3 separate regions of the Homo sapiens genome follow, and all the other regions are linked to region 3. The links are contacts of gene promoters, found by promoter capture Hi-C in blood cells and fetal thymus (Javierre and others, 2016). All regions are on one chromosome and are shown on one strand. The core of a region is centred on a gene start or on the middle of the fragment in contact, and the rest is flanking DNA. Distances in the headings are between cores, read along the strand shown. Region 1 overlaps SRRM1 (serine and arginine repetitive matrix 1). Region 2 holds the start of IFNLR1 (interferon lambda receptor 1). Region 3 holds the start of NIPAL3 (NIPA like domain containing 3).

Evidence for each region. The method cuts DNA at HindIII sites, captures the fragments that hold promoters and counts their contacts. A CHiCAGO score of 5 or more calls a contact.
Region 1: a contact is called between a fragment that was not itself captured here and the fragment with the promoter of NIPAL3 in region 3, in 1 of 17 cell types (naive CD4 T cells). The highest score is 5.1, in naive CD4 T cells.
Region 2: the fragment with the promoter of IFNLR1 here is called in contact with the fragment with the promoter of NIPAL3 in region 3 in 7 of 17 cell types (total B cells, naive B cells, M2 macrophages and 4 more); the score reaches 13.5 in total B cells.

The regions. Positions count from the first base shown.
Region 1 is chr1:24,658,939-24,661,878 of GRCh38, forward strand. It overlaps SRRM1 (serine and arginine repetitive matrix 1), which reads left to right. Exons shown (of 17, transcript NM_005839.4): 10 at 1,781-1,861; 11 at 2,372-2,458. Among named protein-coding and RNA genes, the nearest start is that of SRRM1, 17 kb to the left of the region's middle. The HindIII fragment of the contact is 543 bases long and covers 1,209-1,751 here.
Region 2 is chr1:24,185,523-24,188,726 of GRCh38, forward strand. IFNLR1 (interferon lambda receptor 1) reads right to left here and starts at 1,767. Exons shown (of 7, transcript NM_170743.4): 1 at 1,669-1,767. The coding sequence starts at 1,726. RefSeq lists a silencer at 1,540-2,029. The HindIII fragment of the contact is 11,665 bases long and covers 1-3,204 here.
Region 3 is chr1:24,414,495-24,417,431 of GRCh38, forward strand. It overlaps NIPAL3 (NIPA like domain containing 3), which reads left to right and starts at 1,308. Exons shown (of 12, transcript NM_020448.5): 1 at 1,308-1,410. It also overlaps a transcript of STPG1 not described here. The HindIII fragment of the contact is 730 bases long and covers 1,147-1,876 here.

The sequences.
Region 1 (2,940 bases), core at 230-2,729, 240 kb after region 3:
ATCCCAGCACTTTGGGAGGCAGAGGTGGGTGGATCACCCGAGGTTGGGAGTTCAAGACCCGCGTGACCAACATGGAGAAACCCTGTCTCTACTAAAAATACAAAATTAGCCGGGCGTGGTTGGCGCATGCCTGTAATCCCAGCTACTCAGGTGGCTGAGGCAGGAGAATCCCTTGAACCCGGGAGGCGGAGGTTGCAGTGAGCCGAGATCATGCCATTGCACTCCAGCCTAGGCAACAAGAGCGAAACTCTGTCTCAAAAAAAAAAAAAGAGAGAGAAAGGGAAAAGTCTGTTCATTGAAAAGGCATACTGGTAAATTCTTCATTTTGACTTCTTTAGCAAAGATGCGATTACTGTGTTAGATCACTGGTTCTCTAATTACTGCCCCTTGGAATAAACCATTACAGAATTCTGAATGTGAGTGTCTGTTAAATGAGATGTATCTGTATTCTGAGTCAAACATTCCATGGCAATTGCTTTAATCACACAAAACAGGTATCAGGATCCTGAGAGGATCAAATTGTCTGTAGGTTTATTTCTTATTGGGATGTTCTCAAGTGGTGTTTTAGGTTAATTTATGGTATATATATGTTTATATGTGAATATACTTATGATTTTAGTTGTAGCAATGGATAGATACTATAAGCAGAGTTAGTTGTTGAGATTAAAACCCATGGCCTAAAAATAGATTCTTGGATTCACATCTTAGCTCACTTAAATTGTCTTTGTGACTGAGGTGAAGTTGCTTCTTTTTAAGCCTCAGGTTTCCTCTCTTGTGAAATGGAACAGGGAGAAAGGGATGTGATACTACTGTGTTAATAGTGTGTCTAATACAGCAGGCTTACAAAAGGTAGTTACCATATTTCTATGTTATTGGTAAAAGACAATTGGATAATTCATAGGATACCCACTGCTCTCCTACTACTTGAGGTATAGAAATGCCTTTTTTTCTTTCTAGCTCTTTGGAAAGAATCCTCGTCTTTGTATTTAATCATTTTTACTATTTGTGGCGGTCTGCTTTTTTTCATGGGTAGTTTAAATCCCCTGTGCTATTGTGAAGATTATGCTCTACATAAAGAACCTTTAACCTGTTGGGCAGTCATTCTTCTTTTCTAGACCAAATATCTTTGTGAAAGTTTCATGAGATCTTATTTCTTAATCATTTATCATCTTTTACTTTTCTGAACCCACCTATTGTGGTTGCTTAAAAGCTTTCATGTTGATGAAGTCTCTGAAGTTGAGTGTGAGGGAGTGAGTGTGGGTGTGGAGGGTGTGTATTTTAGATTGTGGAGCTCGTGTAGCACACAGAGGTTTACTTTACTGAGCTTGTTCTACTCAGTAGCAGCTCCCAATTTCCTTTAACTGTTGGTTTTCTTGGGAGAATCTCAAGATTTGAAAATCATTGTAGAACTTTTTGAGGCTTTTCATTAAACATTTAAAAATTCTTGTCTCACTTCAGATAATGTTCAGATATGACAACAAGGTCTTACAGGAATTTTTTAAGTCTTCATAAATTCTTTTTGAGAGTAGTCACACCCATTTTTGTAATAGCAGGAAGGCATCTTGGCTGGGCACAGTGGCTTGTGCCTGTAATCCCAACACTTTGGGAGGCTCAGGCAGGAGGATTGCTTGAGGTCAGGAGTTCAAGACTAGCCTGACTAATATAGTGAGACCCCATCTTTATTTAAAAATAATAATAAATTTTTAAAAATTAAAAGAAAAGCATCTTGTATAGACCTTTTTTTGTACGTAAGCTTTTTTCCACTCTTATTCTTTTTTAGTGACAAAACATAAAGGTACTGAGAAAAGAGAATCCCCTTCACCAGCACCGAAGCCTAGAAAAGTAGAGTTATCTGAATCGGGTAAGTTTGTTGTTTTTTTTTGTGATTTTGGTTTGTTTGTTTTTGTTTTTCTTAAAGCTGATTTTGATTTTTTGCACATTTGGTCATCCCCTTCTGCTTGAAGATTAAGTATAGGGTAAGAGCTAAGACTCTGAAGGCAGACAGACTTGGGTGGAATCCCCCATTCCAGAATTTAACTGTTTCTGTTTTAATTAACTTATCTGAGCCTTTCTTCTTTCATCTCCGAAATAGGGACAGTAGAGGTTTTTGACAGTTAACTGTATCTGCTTGTAAAATGCTTGGCACCAGCCTGACCTGTAGTAAATGCCTAAATAAATTTTATTATATTTGGTGAAGATAGTCTAAATCAGCCTGTGAATTGGCATTTTAAACTCTTTTTAAAAAAAATATATAGTAGTTGTATTTTTGATCCAACCAAATGAAGGTTTGAGAGACTATTTTCCTATTCAAATTGCAAATTTTCTATATGCTTAACTAAAGAAACACTTTCTAAATGCATCCATCTTTCAGAAGAAGATAAAGGTGGCAAAATGGCTGCAGCAGATTCTGTGCAGCAGAGACGCCAATACAGACGACAAAACCAGCAGTCTTCATCTGGTATGGATGGTGATGAAAGTTTTTTTTCTACCTGTATTTCCTATTAAAAAATACTTGGTATATAAACATCTGTGTGTGCAGCATGAGTACTTACTTGCCTACATAGAAATCTGTCTGAGGAGGCAGGATTGTTTCTTTTTTTGGTTTTAAGTCCTTTTGCAAAATTTAATTTTCTGTTACATTGTTATAAAAGTAATAGGTCCCTAGGATACAATAGTGAAACAGAAAACAGAAGTATAAAATTGGAAACGTATCATTCTTTTTCCAACCTCCTAAAGCTTTTATTCAGAAATTTTCTGTGCATATAGAAAAAGGAAAAGAAAAAACCCCACAGAAGCTCAACTGTAGATATGTTGCCTCACTTTTTAACTTAACAGTATATTTAGAACATCTTTCCCTATTAAAAATCTAGACTGGGCGCAGTGGCTCACACCTGTAGTCCCAGCACTTTGGGAGGCCGAGGTGAGCAGGCCGAGATCAGG
Region 2 (3,204 bases), core at 517-3,016, 230 kb before region 3:
GTGGATGGCTGTCCCCAGCCTCGGCTGCCTACCCATCACCTTCTAGACCCAAAAGTGGGTGCCTGCTTCCACCTCATCCTGTGTCCTCTAGCTGGGACTGTATCACCACGAGGCTAGTGCTATTACTACTCCCAGCTTCTGGACTTCCTAACGGGTGACCAGCAGGAGACCAGGCTGTCTGCAAGCCACTTGTAAGGTATCCTATGGGCAGGACAGTCCCCAGATTCGAGCTAGGTCACATGAGAAAAACAGCAGTTAGAGCAACTTTCCTCTATGAAGCCTTCAAAGGATGCCAGGCACTAGTTTGGCTCTTTACATGTAAAACCTCAATCACCCTTGGGACAGACCACCCTATGGGGTAGGTGTCATTCATTCTGCTTCCATGGAAAGGGCGCTAGGCTCAGAGACAGATGCTAACTAACTTGCCTGAGGCTACACAGTCAGTTTGTGTGGGAGCCAGTATTTGAACTTAGATCTGGCTGTACTTACTCCTAAATCATCACACCATAGTTAGTGTTGTGTATATTAAATACTTATCAGGTGAAAGTACAAGAAGGTCTGGGTTTGACAGTGAAAGGGGAACAGAAGACCCCACCCTCCCTCCACACACAGGTACACGGTCCCTCATCAGCCACAGAGAACGCTGCTGTGGGCACTGGGGGCTGGAGCATCCCTGGCTGGCCTAGTGACCCAGTGGATGGACAGCCTGTCCCACGTGCCTACCCTGGAGGCAAAAGCTAGCCAGGCTTGCTTTAGCCCCTCTTCTCTCTTCTGTGTGCCTCACCTCTGCCATCCTTCTTGAGGAATTCCCTGAATTGCTCTGAGCCTCAGTTTTCCCATCGGAAAAGTAAAAATAATATCTACCTCCGAGGATGGCTGGGTCGTGAGGCTTCCAGAATAATGCGGTGCCTGGCACAAAGAAGTTGCTGAATAAATATAGGCTTTTATGATGATTGGATTATGCCCAGGGACCTTTACAGCTCTTTAAACTGTGAGTCCAAGACTAGGAAAATATCCTGGGGGCGATTTCTGGACCTTCTCTTCCCTGCTTCGGTTGGAGTCGTGGGCGGTGAGGTTTGGTGGTTGGGTCCTACGGCGAGGAATTTTGTACCTGACACCTTACTCATCAGTAGAGGTGGGAAAACAACAACAACAACAACAACAACAAAACAACAACAAAACAACAACCACCACCAAAAGAAAGCCGTCTTGTTAGAAAGCAGGGCACAGGCGACCAGAGCTCCGTCCCACCAGAGGCCTGGCAGGAACGGGAAGGGACATCAATCGGTCCCACTTTCCCTGCTGTCCACACTTTAGGGTCAAGTGTGGTTTTCACGCAGGGATCAGTGCTTTCTTTAGGAAACATTAAAAAGCACTTTATTAAAAAATATGCAGTATCAAACTGCCGCTGTCTTTTTTCTCCAGTTCTCCTGAAGCTGGAAGCATTAGGAAACTGGATTCGTTTCCTGCGGGAGAGGAATATCAAAGACCCGGTTCTGTTCAGTCCTGGGAAGAAGCAAACTGGGGGCGCGTAGGCAGGGCCGATTCGCACCCGGCTCGGGTGGCTGCGGACCCCGTGCCTGTCCCAGGAGCTCCGGGTCCGAGGGTAGGCGCGGCCCGGCCCGGGGAGCCCTCTTCCCCCTCCCTCCCGCGGCCCCGCGCCCTTACCTGGAGCGGCCTGCAGCAGGCACAGGAGCAGGGGGCCCCAGCGCTCGGGCCCCGCCATGGCCTTCCTGCCGCGGCGTCCCCGCCCGGGCCCAGGTCCCCGCCTCCCGCCTCCCGCCTCCCGTCTCCTAGCCCACCGCGGGCAGGTGACGCAGTCGGCAGCCAATGGCCCGCAGAGCCGCGGGCCCGTCCCTGCCGCCTAGGATTCACTGAGAAGGTCCCTGGGGACAGCCCCGCCGCGGGGGGAGGGGGGGGGGGGAGCGCGCCGGTCCCCGCGCTCGAAACTCGCCCGTACCTCTGCTTCATCTGCACTTAGTTTTGTTTTACTCAATTCCCGGAAAAAAAAATCAGTAAATCCGTGCACGGGGGAAGGGCAGGGGAGGGGAAGAAACCGGCTGATGATCAATAACCCACGGCCAGTCCAGTGCTCCAGGACGGGCCATTTTGGCAGGATTAGGGAGAGTTCAAGGCCGGTTTGGCTACGCGGCCTCAATGCCATTGGCGGGATCCGAGCGCGTTTCTGAGCCGGATGCTGAGCTCCGCGCCTTACACACGCGATTCCCTTTAATGCCCCCGGGGATCCCGGCGGATCCGTGCTGCCCTTCTCCACGTACTTCTCTCCCGGGGAGCGGCAGGCCCCAGAGCTTCAGGTGCTTGTTCTGGGGAAAGCTGTCTTTCTGACCCCGAAGGCTGTGGTGTTCACCTGGACAGCAGTAGCTTCCCAGTAAGGCACACGCCACGACGCGCAATATTATGCGGCCCTTTAGGAGGACGTTGCCGAATGGTGTGTATCGACACCGAGGTGTTTGCAACACACTGAGAAACAGAAAAGCGAGTGCTAAAACATAGGCCCATTAAAAAAGTGTGTGTGTAGCCGGGCGCGGTGGCTCACGCCTGTAATCCCAGCACTTTGGGAGGGTGAGGCGGGTGGATCGCCTGAGGTCAGGAGTTGGAGACAAGCCTGGCCAACATGGTGAAACCCCGTCTCTACTAAAAATACAGAAAATCAGCCGGGCGTGGTGGCATTCACCTGTAATCCCAGCTATCAGGGAGGCTGAGGCAGGAGAATCGCTTGAACCCAGGAGGCGGAGGTTGCAGTGAGCCGAGATCGCGCCACTGCACTCCAGCCTGGGCGACAGAGTGAAACTCAGTTTCAAAAAAAAAAAAAAAAGTGTGTGTGTGTGTGTGTGTGTGTGTGTGTGAGTCTGTCTGTATGCATAGAAAGATATTTGGAATAATAATTACCAAAATATTAATGGTTGTTGTCTTTGGGTGATGAGGATTTTCTTTTTCAACTTTCTTCTTTTCTGATCATATTTCGTTTCCAATTTTTTGATAATTATTTGAAACTGGGATCAGCTTTGGTCCCATCAGTTTTTGGAAGAGAAAATGATTTTCACAGAGCTTGGTGGGTCCAAAAGTTGCTCTGAGTTTAACCGCGGGGGAAATTTCTTTTGGAAATTTCAGGATGCTTCTGGGACTAGCATCAAGGCTTCTGCTTAATCAGGATTTTTTTTCTTTTTTTTTTTTTAGACAAAA
Region 3 (2,937 bases), core at 58-2,557:
CAATGGCTCGCCTTTAAATTTAGGGTGAAATCCAAGCTTTTTTTTTTTTTTTTTTTTTTTTGACAGGGTCTTGCTCTGTCGCCCAGCTGGAGTGCAGTGGCGCGATCTCGACTCGCTGCAACCTCCGCCTCCCGAGTTCAAGCGATCCTCCCGCCTCAGCCTCCTGAGTAGCTGGGACCACGGGCGCTCGCCACCACGCCCGGCTAATTTTTAAATTTTTTTGTAGAGATGGGGTCCCACTATATTGTCCAGGCTGGTCTCAAACTCCTGGGCTTAAGTGATCCTCCTGGCCTCCCAAAGTCCTGAGATTACAGGTGTGAGCCACCGCGCCGGCCCCCAAATATGTTATTTATAAACTGTCCCTGGCCCGTCCCTCAGATCGCAGGCCCAACCACGCCCCCAGAAAAATCTCTCACCAGCCCTGCTGGCCTTCGGGCAGTTTCTACAATGCACCAACTCGTTCCTCTCCCATGTTCCCAAGGAGCTTTCTCTGCCCCACGATCTGAGACTAGAACTGCCTCTTTCTCATTGTTGATGTCTAGGCCCAAATGACATTTCTTCATACGTAAAACGGGCTTCAAGTCTCACTCATGGCTGTGACGATCTGAAAGCAAATGCGTGTATATGACAACGTGTGAGCGATGAGAAGCTTGTCATCTGTAAAACTCCATGCGCATGTTAATTATCATGGCCGTGATAATTATGTACATTATAGAAACATTAACCAAGCGCTGGGCTCGTTTCAGGACCTTCAGTATTGCTGGGAGGCTTGGTATCCGACAGGTGTTCCAGGAGGGCAGGAAAGGAGAGATATGTTTGGTCCCAAGTCTCGCGAGGGCTCTGGGGAGCGCTGGGTCTTCAAGGACGTTTTGGATTTGAATACTTGGTGAGAGCGTCGGGTAGGGGAACAGCAGGAGCAAAGCCCGGAAGGTGGCTATGAGGATAAGAAGGGAGGACACCTGGCAGGCTGCTAAAACCAGGCCCACCTGCCGGGCAGGTGGAGGCGAGCAACCACCTAAGCTCTCTGGGACAGCGGGAGAGGGGGCAGGGGAGTCGCCGCACCATTCTTCCTGTGGCCGCTAGGGGGTCCCCGCTCCAGGTGAGCGCCAAGCTCTAGCCCCAGGTCGCTCCCTTATGCTTCAAGCAAGCTTTGCAGCGCAGCCAATTGCCAGGGGCTGTCCCGCCTACTCCCCGTCCTCGCAGCCACTTGCCTGCGCGAAATGCCTGCCAACTTCTGACTGGCAGGCAGTCTGGCAAATCAAATCGCGACCTTTGAAAGCAAAACACTGCAGCATCTTGGCAGCTCTGAATTGGGAAGGGATGAAGGAGGCTGTGCCTCCGGGTTGCACGAAGAGTCCGAGTCATTTCTCAGAAGGTTTTGATAGGTGGGCCTTAGAGGAGACGCCGCCGGTGAGTAGTGATTAACACCGGGAGGAAGGGGAATTGAATTTAACCTTCGTTTTTTTCTGGAAAAAGCGAAGTCACCTAACGTCCCCTAGTGTACATACCCTTCCTTCTTACTGTCACCAGCCTCGCCAACCTGGGTCCCGTTGCCTTGGAATGTTCTTTCCAGTTTTGCATCGAGGCCAAGAGGAGCGGGGGCATGGGCTACCTTACTAAAGGTGATGCCAGGCTCTACCAAACCAGGAAGTGACATGGAGTTAACTTTGCCAGAATTTCTCCTCTTCGTGCCGAGCGGCTCGGGCTTCCTGGCGGCAGCAGATGGTGGAGTTAGCAGGTGGGATGAGGGGAGGCGTTCTTGGTCTAAGCCCGCTTCTGGAACAGAGGTGCTGTCTCCTCGAGTTGTAAGTTTCCAGCTCAGTGGGACGGGACGGAAGAATGTAACCTTCTCGTGAGCCAAAGCCGAGGAACGGGAAGCTTGGCAGGGAACTGGCGCTCACCTCCAGAAGCCAGATCGTCGGGTGGTGGGAAAGAGCGTGTTTTATTGATTTGTTCAGAAAGAGGCAAATTCGAATACAGACGCTATGAGCCACGGCTGTCTCATTTGTAAAACGTGCTCTGTGGGATTGGTGAAATCCGTCATCGAGATAAACGGGGTGGGAATGGAAGCAGAGCACCTAGTGAATTCTCATTCCTTCCTTGGGTCAGTGACCACGTGCTCTAATTGTGGGGTGGTTGACAACGCAGAGGTGACTGCTTGCCTCTCGGGCATATGTAGGTCCTGAAGAAATGCTTCGAAATCAGGAAAAGAGAGTCACCAGGTGAAAAGTATGTGTCTTATAAGGGAGTACAGCTTGCAAAGGGTTCCTCCAGGCTTTCAGTCCGGACTCCCACCCAGCTGAGGGAGAGCCTTCAATCTTTGCAGGCGATGCTTCAGAGGCCTGCGAGTTCCTGAGGCAGAGAGGGAAGCTGCTTTTTAAAAGAAAAATTAAACCACAGCAATGCCAACCACCACAAACAAAAGCAAAACCAGAAAAGCACTTGGGCAAACTACTCTGAAGGATGTTAGGAGGCCTGGGTTCCCACCACTCCCTTGATTGACATGTCGCTAAGGTCTGTTGGCTTTCTCTGACCTCCTGTGGGTGGGGCTGAGTATATCTGCTTGTTGAAGCTCTGGAGTTGTGGTTGATTAGGCCTTAGAAAGGCATTCTTGACTGCGAAGGGGCCACAGTGCACCCAGTGCTTAACCAGCCTGCATTTAGTCAGTCGGTTGGTATGTATACAAGTCACTGTCAGGCTCTGGGCTAGATCTCATTTAGTCAGTTGGTTGGTATGTATAGAAGTCACTGTCAGGCTCTGGGCTAGATCTCAGCTGGGAGCAACTGAACAGGGTATTCCGCAAACACCTCACTGGAGTTTGCGCTCCTCAACTCCATGACTGCTTCATGGTTGAATGCTTCCCGGGGCCTCTCAGAGGTAGAAAGAACCCTGAGCCACTCTTAAGGCTCTTATGATTATTACAAATGCTAAAACATT